2 separate regions of the Homo sapiens genome follow, and region 2 is linked to region 1. Evidence: promoter capture Hi-C in 16 types of primary human blood cells and fetal thymus (Javierre and others, 2016). All regions are on one chromosome and are shown on one strand. The core of a region is centred on a gene start or on the middle of the fragment in contact, and the rest is flanking DNA. Distances in the headings are between cores, read along the strand shown.

What was found. Contacts are between HindIII fragments. The CHiCAGO score rates a contact against its expected background, and 5 or more counts as called.
Region 2: a contact is called between a fragment that was not itself captured here and the fragment with the promoter of RSPRY1 in region 1, in 1 of 17 cell types (endothelial precursors). The highest score is 5.9, in endothelial precursors.

The regions. Positions count from the first base shown.
Region 1 is chr16:57,182,450-57,187,895 of GRCh38, forward strand. It overlaps RSPRY1 (ring finger and SPRY domain containing 1), which reads left to right and starts at 3,880. Exons shown (of 15, transcript NM_133368.3): 1 at 3,880-4,002. It overlaps PSME3IP1 (proteasome activator subunit 3 interacting protein 1), which reads right to left and starts at 3,590. Exons shown (of 7, transcript NM_024946.4): 1 at 3,372-3,590. RefSeq lists enhancers at 3,215-3,264, 4,576-5,220 and a silencer at 3,965-4,174. The HindIII fragment of the contact is 4,622 bases long and covers 675-5,296 here.
Region 2 is chr16:57,414,239-57,420,062 of GRCh38, forward strand. It overlaps CCL17 (C-C motif chemokine ligand 17), which reads left to right. Exons shown (of 4, transcript NM_002987.3): 3 at 843-960; 4 at 1,527-1,825. The coding sequence ends at 1,623. Among named protein-coding and RNA genes, the nearest start is that of CCL17, 12 kb to the left of the region's middle. RefSeq lists enhancers at 1,879-2,394, 2,395-2,910, 3,427-3,941. The HindIII fragment of the contact is 1,450 bases long and covers 2,240-3,689 here.

The DNA of each region.
Region 1 (5,446 bases), core at 2,630-5,129:
AAAACGCAGTCCCAGTTACTCAGGAGGCTGAGACTGGAGGACTGCTTGAGCCTAGGAGTTCAAGGCCAGCCCGGGCAACATAAGGAGATACCCATTTCCCTTAAAAAAAAAAAAAAAAAAAAAAAAACTTTGCATTACAATAACCAGACAAGGCCAACTAAGATTTTTTTTTTTTTTTTTTTTGGCGCAGTGGCTCATGCCTGTAACCCTAGCACTCTGGGAGACTGAGGCAGGTGGATCACCTGAGGTCAGAAGTTCGAGACCAGCCTGACCAACATGGTGAAACTCCGTCTCTACTAAAAATATGAAAATTAGCCAGGCGTAGTAGCACATGCCTGTAATCCCAGCTACTCGGGAGGCTGAGGAAGGAGAGTTGCTTGAACCCGGGAGGCGGAGGTTGTAGTGAGCCGAGATCGCGCCACTGCACTCCAGCCTGCGCGAAGTGGGCGAGACTCCATCTCAAAGAAAAAAGATTTTTGAAGCAAATATTTACCGAGAACCTATTATGTGCAAGATACAATGCTATGTACTAAACAGGCAACTGAGGAACTTACACTCATTCAGTAAAAGACATAAGGTTGGCACACAGCAATTTAAGGAAAAGTAAAACTAGGTTACAGGCCATAAGAGGCACTAAGCAGTTCAGAAAGGAAGACTAGAATAAGCATTGGGGAAGCTTAATTTTCATAATGGCTGTGACGATGCACAGTGAAAAGTGGTGGAAATTTTAGGTATATGAAGAATAACCATCTTTAACTTGGAAATCACACAAATTTCACATTCCAAATTTCAGAATACAGGGGGATTTTCATTTCTTGAAATAGTGGGCTAGGTAATTGAAACCAATTCTCCACCTCTGCACTAAATATGCTGGAAATTTGTCAAAAATAATTTTTTTTTTGAGATAGGGTCTCGCTCTGTCACACAGACTAGAGTGCAGTGGCATGATCTCAGCTCATTGCAACCTCCACCTCCCAGGTTCAAGCGATTCTCCTACCTCTGCCTCCCGAATAGCTGGGATTGCAGGTGCCCGCCACCATGACTGGCTAATTTTTGTATTTTTAGTAGAGACAGGGTTTCACCATGTTGGCCAGGCTGGTCTCAAACTCCTGACCTCAAGTGATCTGCCCACCTCGACCTACCAAAGTGCTGGGATTACAAGTGTAAGCTACCACGCCCAGCCAAAAATATTAATTCTTAAATAGAAAAGCTAACAAGATAGTAAAGAATTTGGACACAATCTAGAAGGTGAAAACCAGAAATTAAGCCCAATATTCAAAATGGATTTCATCCTGAGGACTTCTCTGACCTAAAAGCTAAAGTTTCAGTGCCTTTATGAGATAACAGAAACAAGTTCAAGCCAGGAGCCCATCCAGGGAGTGGAGTCTGACAACTACCTCCCTCTCCATCTTAATCTTGTGCCCAAAAGAACTACAGCTTCAAAGTAAAGGTGAACTGGGAAGTAAAACAGCAGGAATAATGGACAACAGAAACAGACTCCCCCAAAGGGAATTCAGACAGTGGAATTAAACATAGAGATTATAAAAACAACTATACTTTCCATGTTTAAAGAAATAAAATTAAGCCTCAAAATAGTAAGAAATAAAAAACTGTAAAAGTGTCACAAACCAAACAGAACTTCAGAAACTAAAAATTGCAATATATGATTTAAGATTTCAGAGGCCGAGTTTAATAACAATGGAAATAACTTGAGAATAAATTATCCAGAATGTACTACGAAAGAACAGAGTAAAAGACATAGAGAAAAGAGTGAAAAGGTTTAGTTAAATCGATAAAAAAAAAAAGAGAAACAATGGGAAGAAGCAATATATGCATATAAAATGGCTGAGAATTTTACAGAATTAATGAAAGACACTAATCCACAGATTCAAGAAGTCTAATAAATACCAAACAAATTGAACAAAAACAAACCCATAGTTCCATAGAGCATAGTGGAAATACAGAAAACCAAACACAAAACAATCTTTTTTTTAAACTTGTCGATACTTGATTTTAGACAAAACAATCTTAACAACATATTCTATAGTAAAGAGTGAAACATAATATTTAAGAATGAAGACAAAGTATGTTCAAAAGGTGACTAATGGTGAACACGTTGAAAATGCTTAATTTAGCTGCCATAAAGGCATAATTACACTATGACTGACCCTGTACGTACATCGCACTTGTTACTTGATTTACCACATACGTGGTTTTCAATAGCTAAAGCAGCAGCTTGATTCTAACCAAGCATCACCATTCTTGGAAGATGAAAGTGAAGACTGATAATCAACTAAATGGTTTTGACACAATTATTCCTTTCTTATATCATGAAGCACTTCCCCACAGGGTAAGGACATGAAGACTTCAGTTGAGAAAGATAATCGGGCAGCCTCTACTTTCAGATCCTTACAAATTGTTCGCAGGTCATCTAACTAAAAGACTGTAAAAGCTGCTGTCGGCTCAATACTTTGTATCAAAAAGGAGTCTACCCACTGATTCCCTTCAAATATTTCAGAAGGGTGCCTTCCATTTTATGGTGTCCCTGTGGACACATGAATACACCAAATAACTGATGAATCGACAAATCTTATGTCACAGGTGGTAGGCAAGAGGTCATCGGGAATTCCGATCACCAGGCTCGCATCTGGCTTCTTGGGTCCCACTCCTGAACTAACCAGTCGGGCTACCCGAGCGTGCGGGAGTCTGAGAAACTGCATTTTAAAAGGGCCCCAGGAGATCTTGTTTTCCACTAACATTAAAGAACCACGACTACGAACAAACAGGTCTCCCCCTTTCCTCTGTGTGGACTGACAGTCACAAGGACCACCAACTCTCAAGCATGACGCTTCAACTCTCTTTGTTTCTTAAGTTTTCTGCAAAACGGGCCAGCTGGCTTGTTTTCCGTAATAGAAAATTCGCTTGGCACAGCAACTGGTACATGGCACACAATAAATGTGCTTCCCATCCTGCACTGCCATTCTGGGATTCAACCATTTCCAACCAGACGCCGCACATCCGAGTGAGTAACCTGGACCTGTTCCAAGACCTCTGGAACGGAGCCTGCTACTCACTTGAAACCTGGGTGGCCCTACCTAGCAGAAAATTGGGGAAACCCCATTAAACGCCCGGCAGTGTTGGGCCCGCCTGAAAGGGTCCTCGCCGCGACCCAGATGCCTTCCCGCGGGCACCCTCAGCTCCCCTCAGGCTGGGCCCGCAAGCCCCAGGCTTCGGCTACTCCGGACAAGGAGCGGGTGCGCGGACTGAGAACAGGCCTGGCCCTAACCCTAACAGCAGCCGCAGCTCATCTCTTCCGTAAGGAAGCTGGAACCCAGGTGTCGCCGCCAGGCCAGGACCGAGGCCGCACTCACCTACCGGCGCGCGGGAGGCGAGACGACCTCACCTCGGCGGCGCCCACCCCAAACCGCCACCGCAGAGCCGCTCGCTCTTAAAAAAGAAAAAAAAATGAAAGGAAGAAAGAAAGAAACAGAGGAAGGAATGAATGAAAGAAAGAAAAAAAAAAAGAAAATAGCCTTTGCTTTTGTATTTCTTTTGACCCTTCAGGGCTTCCTGTTCCTCACCGCCACAATAGAGTCCCGCCCCACTTCCGGCGACGTAACCCAATCCGCGGAGCTCTTCCTCCCCGGGAGCCCGATGGAAATCCGGTACCCTGAAAACGAGCCGGAGAGACTTGATTGGGCCATTCACGCCTCAGGATGAGGACTGGCCAGTCTGCGCCTGGAGGGCGGGCCGGTCCCGCTGATCACGTGACACGATTTTTGAAAGGTGATTGGCTGTCAAGGAGAGGGCTTGCCACCGAGGAAGGGGCGTTTCCTAGGGGACTGAGGGAGGGCTGGGGCGGTACGAAGCGGGGGTGGGCTCTGCGCGTAATGGCAGCGCCGTGGCCTCGCGTCCATCTTTGCCGTTCTCTCGGACCTGTCACAAAGGAGTCGCGCCGCCGCCGCCGCCCCCTCCCTCCGGTGGGCCCGGGAGGTAGAGAAAGTCAGTGCCACAGCCCGACCGCGCTGCTCTGAGCCCTGGGCACGCGGAACGGGAGGGAGTCTGAGGGTTGGGGACGTCTGTGAGGGAGGGGAACAGCCGCTCGAGCCTGGGGCGGGCGGACCGGACTGGGGCCGGGGTAGGCTCTGGAAAGGGCCCGGGAGAGAGGTGGCGTTGGTCAGAACCTGAGAAACAGCCGAGAGGTTTTCCACCGAGGCCCGCGCTTGAGGGATCTGAAGAGGTTCCTAGAAGAGGGTGTTCCCTCTTTCGGGGGTCCTCACCAGAAGAGGTTCTTGGGGGTCGCCCTTCTGAGGAGGCTGCGGCTAACAGGGCCCAGGTGAGAGGCAGCTATCTATCTCCTGGGGTGGCTCCTGGTACCGATGGGGTCCTGACCTACTCAGGGGTGCCCGGGATAGAAAGGGTAGATGAAGGGACGCTTTAGGAGGGTTCTTTTTGTGGAGTTTACGGTCTAGGTGGCACGGATGAGGCATACCTCCCCGGGGAGATTTAGAAACGCCTTGGGATAGAGAGAGAATGGGGCTAGGAAGCAGGAGCTAGAACTAGCGGAATGTCCTACTACGGAAGCCGGAGCTGAAAATTGGGTAAGGACCTTGGGGAGAGGGGATTTCTGGGCGGTGATGGGAAGAAGACACCTCCATCCACAGGAAAGCCAGAGTGGGGAGTAGTGAAAGGGAAACGGGAATTATTCCCTCTCTCTGTAGATCGACCAGGTGTCCCAGACACAGGATCCAACTGCTTCCGGGCTTATTGCCCGAGTGGGGTGGGGAGAGTCTATCCCACCAACACCCCTTGCGTGAGTCCAAATTAGGCATTTGTCTCTCCTGCTGCCTCACTTTCCCCGTCTTTGGGGAGGGAAACCGACTGAGACCGAGGCGGTCGGCTGAGACTCCGAGGTCCTGTCTTGTATAGTTCTCTGAGAGAGGTTGCTCCCCCTGGAGTGTTGTACTTTGAACTTTGAAGGGTTAGAAGTGTCTGTTATCGACTGAGTAGAATCCCGCAGTTTTCCAGGCCCTTTACCTACCATCTGTTCTTGCTTAGTGGAGTGACTTAACCTCCTTAAGTCTCTACTGTAAAATAACCAGCGCAGTATGTGAAAGTACAAATTACAAGCTGCGTGAACGTAAGTTAGTGTGATTCTACCACCAAACGGGTTGCTGTTGAGGAATAAAAGTGAAGGCACTTTCTAAAATGTAAAGTAGTATGTAGAGGTAAGGGGTGGGATTAATACAGTCGTTGTCTGTCACCTGCGGAGTGCTGGGAGCCATATTGTACTGAAAGCTTCAAGGTTCACAGCTTCTTAGGTCATATTAAGATCTAAACCCATGGTTTCAAACCCTGCTTAGATGGGGATGGTGGGATTTCCAGCTTTTGCTCTCAGAGTTTTCATTTACTTTGAACTTCTTATGGTGCTGGCAGGAGTTACCAC
Region 2 (5,824 bases), core at 1,715-4,214, 230 kb after region 1:
CTTGGGCTGCAATGGCCGTGAGGTGGGGGCTGTGGCTGTAGTTGTGCAATGGAAAATGAACAATTCTCAAAATTATTTATTAGCTTCTGTTTTATTAACAGGTTTTATGCACAATGAGGGAATCAGCATAAAGATAGGAGAATTGTTTCCAAGAGCATGTAAAAAAGGATTCTTTTTTTTTTTTTTTTTTTTTTTTTTGAGATGGAGTCTTGCGCTGTCGCCCAGGCTGGAGTGCAATGGTGTGATCTTGGCTCACTGCAACCTCTGCCTCCCGGATTCAAGCGATTCTCCTGCCTCAGCCTCCCGAGTAGCTGGGAATATAGGTGCCCGGCCACCACGCCACCAATGGGTTTTCACCATGTTGGTCAGGCTGGTCTCGAACTCCTGACCTCAGGCCATCCACCCGCCTTGGCCTCCCAAAGTGCTGGGATTACAGGCATGAGCCACGGCGCCCAGACTGAAAAAAGAGATTCTTATATTAGGTTGGGAAAGGAAAAATGAAATAAGGTTGCCAGGTATAGACATACAGGGACGCGCACAGATGCACAGAGACACACACGTAGGCACTCACAGGACACACAGAATCCCCCACAGACACACAAAACATGCACACCCACAAACACACGGGACCCCACAACATACACAGAAGCCTCACACACACCTGTGTATGGTAACACACAGACACACACACATACACATAGGCAGTGATACACATGCAGTCATCACACACAGATGCACACATGGACACGCACATGCAGATCTTCCACGAACACCCCCCAGAGGTCCCCGCAACACACACGCAGACACTCACAGACACCCCTGCCCCGCTCCTCTCCCTGCAGCTCGAGGGACCAATGTGGGCCGGGAGTGCTGCCTGGAGTACTTCAAGGGAGCCATTCCCCTTAGAAAGCTGAAGACGTGGTACCAGACATCTGAGGACTGCTCCAGGGATGCCATCGTGTAAGTCCCCCTGGCTCCACCCCTGCTCCTCAGGGCCAAGCATGGGGACAAGTGCACCCTGGAGCTCCCAGGACGGCCAATGGGGAGCAGGGAAGAGACAGCGGGGCCTTCCTCCCCAACCCCTGCAGGCTCCCCACACTGTGGGACCCAAAAGGGCCGCAGGCCATGAGGTCCAACCTATTCCTTGATTTGTGGTGAAATTGAGGCCCCGGGAGCAATGAACACCCCCAGGTCACACAGCTGGTCAGGGGCAATGTGGTCACCTCCCCCAGCCTGGGCCTGAGCCCTGCCCGCAGTCTCCACGTCCCAGGCTCTAGACTGTCTGGGGGCATGGGCAGGCTGAGGGGTGGGCACAAGTTCCTGCAGCCCTGGCTCCCTGGGAGGGTCGAGATTACTCGGGACAGAGCCTGAAGTCCCAGATCTGCCACCAATGCCCTGTGTGACAGCAGCAACTTCCTGCCCCTCTTGGAGCCTTGGAATCCTGGTCAGCACAGGGCGGGCCGTCCCAGGGACTCTGGGGGCCCTTCCCCCCCTGCCACTCCTGGTAACGTCCTCCTTCTGTGTAGTTTTGTAACTGTGCAGGGCAGGGCCATCTGTTCGGACCCCAACAACAAGAGAGTGAAGAATGCAGTTAAATACCTGCAAAGCCTTGAGAGGTCTTGAAGCCTCCTCACCCCAGACTCCTGACTGTCTCCCGGGACTACCTGGGACCTCCACCGTTGGTGTTCACCGCCCCCACCCTGAGCGCCTGGGTCCAGGGGAGGCCTTCCAGGGACGAAGAAGAGCCACAGTGAGGGAGATCCCATCCCCTTGTCTGAACTGGAGCCATGGGCACAAAGGGCCCAGATTAAAGTCTTTATCCTCAGTCTGTGTCAGCGTGTCTGTCCCCACAGCGCAAGATGCGCTTCCACTCCGGCCTGTCACTCTGGGAGGGTTCTCAGAGAACCTCTGGTCCTGCCCTGTGCAGGTCGGAAAGGGAAACTGAGGCTGAGAAGGGCACGTGGCTTCCGCAGACCACGCACCAGTGAGGGGAGGCCCTGGTGAGAGGCCCGGGCAGGGGCGGGGTTGGCGGGGTCCTGGGAGGCGGCCGCTGGATTCTCTCCCTACCCACCCCAAGGTCTCCCGGTTTCCCCCCAGCCCAGCTCCTGTTCTTGCCCCACGTGGAGCTGAGGACAAACTTCCCCGAGGTGCTGGAGTCAATTTCACAGACTGGCCAGGACCCTGCCGCAGGCCACAGCTCTGCCCAGTGCTGGGGAGCCCCCTGGCCAAGGGTGGGGGAAGCTTGTAGCCCTGTCCTTGCCTTCCCCTGCACTCACTGCAGTCCAGCTGGCCCGGCTCCTCCTGGCCCTGGCTCCCTCTCCCCGCTCAAACTCCAGACCCCAGCTCCAGGGCGAGGGGGCTCTGTGGGTCCTGGGCCCTCTGCCTGCGGCTGACTTCCTAGCCCACTCCAGGCTCAGGCAGGCGGGCGCCACGCGGCCCTGTGGTTCCTCCTGACTGAAGTGTGATCCCCACCCGGCCCTGGCTGCGCCCAGCCTGCCGGAAGCCGGCCCAGCACAACCGCCCACCGACTCGCTCCCCCAGCTCTTAGGGACTGCCCTGAAGCCGACCCCTGCTCCGCGTGGTTCTCTCATTGTGTGTGTGTGTGTGTGTGTGTGTGTGTGTGTGTGCGTGCGCGTGTGTGGCAGTCCCAGCTCCTCCATTAGGTTGAGAGCTCCGTGAGCCACTCCGGGGACCCCACACCCCTGTGCTAAAAAAGATGGGGACTAGAGGCTCAGGACACCCCACCCCCAGACCCCTCTGCCCATGCCCAGCTAAGGGCTGAGCACAGAGGAGTCGGGGCCTAAGCCTTCTAGTTCTCTCTCACTCTCCCAACCAGCGATGGGGCCGTGGCTTCTCTCTGAACACAGTTTGGCGGCAGGGGCGCGGGTCCTTCTCTTCCGAGGACCTTGTGGCGGGCATTGTTTGGTGGGGCTGCGGTTAGAAGGGCAATTTCCAGGCCCGGCTGTTGCCTCCTGCTGCTCCCTTGTGGCCAGTCAGCTCATTGCAGGGCAGATGATAGAACCCAAGTTTACTTTCCAGTACGGGCACAGCGATAACGAGGTTGATAAAACCAGTGAACTGGCTTGCCTGTGACTCTAGGGTCTCTTCAGCCGCAAGTGGGCTCATCTCCTGTCCTGATGCCGAGGAGGATCACTTGAACAACTGCCTAAGACCCAGAGTCCTGGGGATGGCCCAGTCTGAGTTCTTCATGGAAAATTGTCCTCTGAATCCACCGGGAGGAGGAAGGATGATCTAAAAAGGGAGGGAGGCAAGGAGAAGCTCCTAAGACAGCAAAGGCCAGAGACAGCCGGGGTCTGGACCCCTGCACCCTGCAGGCGAGAGCTGGAAGGACTCTCAGAGTGCAATGGCTCCATCTCAGCTCACTGCAACCTCCGCCTCCCAGGTTCAAGCGATTCTCCTGCTTCAGCCTCCTAAGTAGCTGGGATTACAGGCGCCCGCCACCACACCCGGCTAATTTTTTTGTATTTTTAGTAGAGACGGGGTTTCACCATGTCGGTCAGGCTGGTCTTGAACTCTTGGCCTTATGTGATCCACTCGCCTTGGCCTCCCAAAGTGCTGAGATTACAGGCATGAGCCACCGCGCCTGGCCTCCAGCAAACTTCGTTTAAAAAAGCAAGACCTTTTTTGTTTTTTCCCTACTGAAATCCTACTCAGAAGCCCATATTGTAAGCTTAGGTAAGTAGAGCTGCCGTGGAGGCCTGTGAGGAGGTGGGGAGTTGCCAGAGGGTCCCTGAAAGTGAGATAGGGTGGGGCATTGCATAAAGGCAGGGAAGAGGTGGATCCAGGACTGGCAACAAAACGCAGGATTCAGAATCCAAGTATTCACGAGCAGCATCCGGTGCAAGCTGGGGGATGGTGAGATGCAAGAGATAGGACAACTGCCATGTGACCTTAGGGCATTTTAAGGAGGTGTGACCTGGAGACTGCTGTGATTGGAAAGACTGCTGGGAGGGAAAAAGAGGAATGGGCAGGTTCGGGGTGAAAAGTGAGGAGAAGCGCCAGACTTATGTTGTTTCTTTCACCTGGTAGGTGCCTCCCCTCCTCCCCCACCCCACCCCTGCTTTTTTTTTTTTTTTTTTTTTTTTTTTTTTTCAGATGGAGTCTGGCTCTGTGACCCAGGCTGGAGTGCAGTGGTGCGATCTGGCTCACTGCAACCTCTGTCTCCCGGGTTCAAGCGATTCTCATGCCTCAGCTTCCTGAGTAGCTGGGATTATAGGTGTGCACCACCACACCTGGCTGATTTTTGTATTTTTAGAAGAGATGGGGTTTTACCATGTTGGCCAGGCTGGTCTCGAACTCCCGAGCTCAAGTGATCCGCCCACCTCGGCCTCCCAAAGTGCTGGGATTACAGGCGTGAGCCACTATTCTGAAATCCAGTTTCTCTTCAACGCTCAACTCAGTGCTGCCTCTGCCACAGCCAGCCTACTCAACCTCAGCTGTGTGTCCTCCACCTGCACCCAACGCTCACCTTAGTCTAATCCTGACCACACTCTACCCCTTGTAATTGGAGCTGCTTGGGTGATTTACCCAATAAACTCACTGAGCAGGTATTTGGGTCAGGAAACAGTACCAGACTCATTTATGAGGAGGGAAAAAAGCTTTGTGCACAGTGTATATTTGATTTATACATTTTCATCAGTGCTGCTCAGGTGAATTCCACAAGGGGCACTAGTGGGGAAAGAGAAATTTCCTGGGGAGCCCTAATAACCCGGCTTGAAGCATATTGCATCTCCAAACGTGGAAATTAGAATTGGGTTGTTTTCCAGTGGCCCACCAGAGGGCACTCTGCTCTTAGGAGGAAGTTCTGAGGCTGATGCGCCAGGGGCCCTGACCCCACCAGCCAGACTCCGGCCCCATCGCTGTCCCCAGGGGCTGGGATCAGCCACATCTGGTTGTAGCTGCACTAGGCCTTGGGGCAGGGGTGTCTGTAGCTGGCCGGCTCTCCTCTTGTGGGAACAGAAGCAAAGAAACCGCCAATTACACTGTCTGGGGTTTGCTGGATGAAGAGGAAGAAGGAAGAAACCCTGCTGGGACTAGCAGGGCCACTAACTCCAGACGCAACCTGGGCAGTGCCAAGAGCTGTGGGCTGGGGTGTTTCACTGTGTTTTCTTAGAGACTGTATTTGGTCTATTTGGCATCCATTTATCACAGGGCCAAATCACAGGGCCAAAAGCATTTATACCTCCCCTGCAAGCTGGTTTTTGCAAGTGTTTGAAAGTAATAATAGTTACAAACCCTCCAACCAATCCCAATCACAGGCCCCCCAACCATCTCTATTTAACTCTCACACCAAGCCAGTATTTCCCCTGCCCTAAATCACCCAGAGCCAGGTAGAGACAACTAGGGACGGCCCCTAAGCCCAAGGCCCCCTGGAATTATTCCAACTAGCCAGACCCGGGCTGCTTCCCCTGGCCTGCCTTGCACTTCGGGTGGAAACCCCACAAAAGGCTGTGGCCTGTGCTGTTCTGATCCTTCCTTTCAGCCTCCTGACCAAACTTGGTGCTCCCCCTGTGGCCCCGTGTGTGGTCCTGCGTGTGTGCCATGCCCTGTTCTCCTGGGAGATGCAAGTGATGAATTCTTTCAGTGTCCTTGGTCGCTCTGTGTTGTCACTCAGTCACCTCCATCAATTCAAATCCTGGGGGTACATTTTAAATTTTTTAAATTGATGCATAGTAATTGTACATATTTATGGGATACATATGATACTGTGACACAAGCATACAATGCATAGTGATCAGATCAAGGTAATCAGGATATCCATCACCTCGAACATTTATCATTTCACTGTGTTGGGAACGTTTCA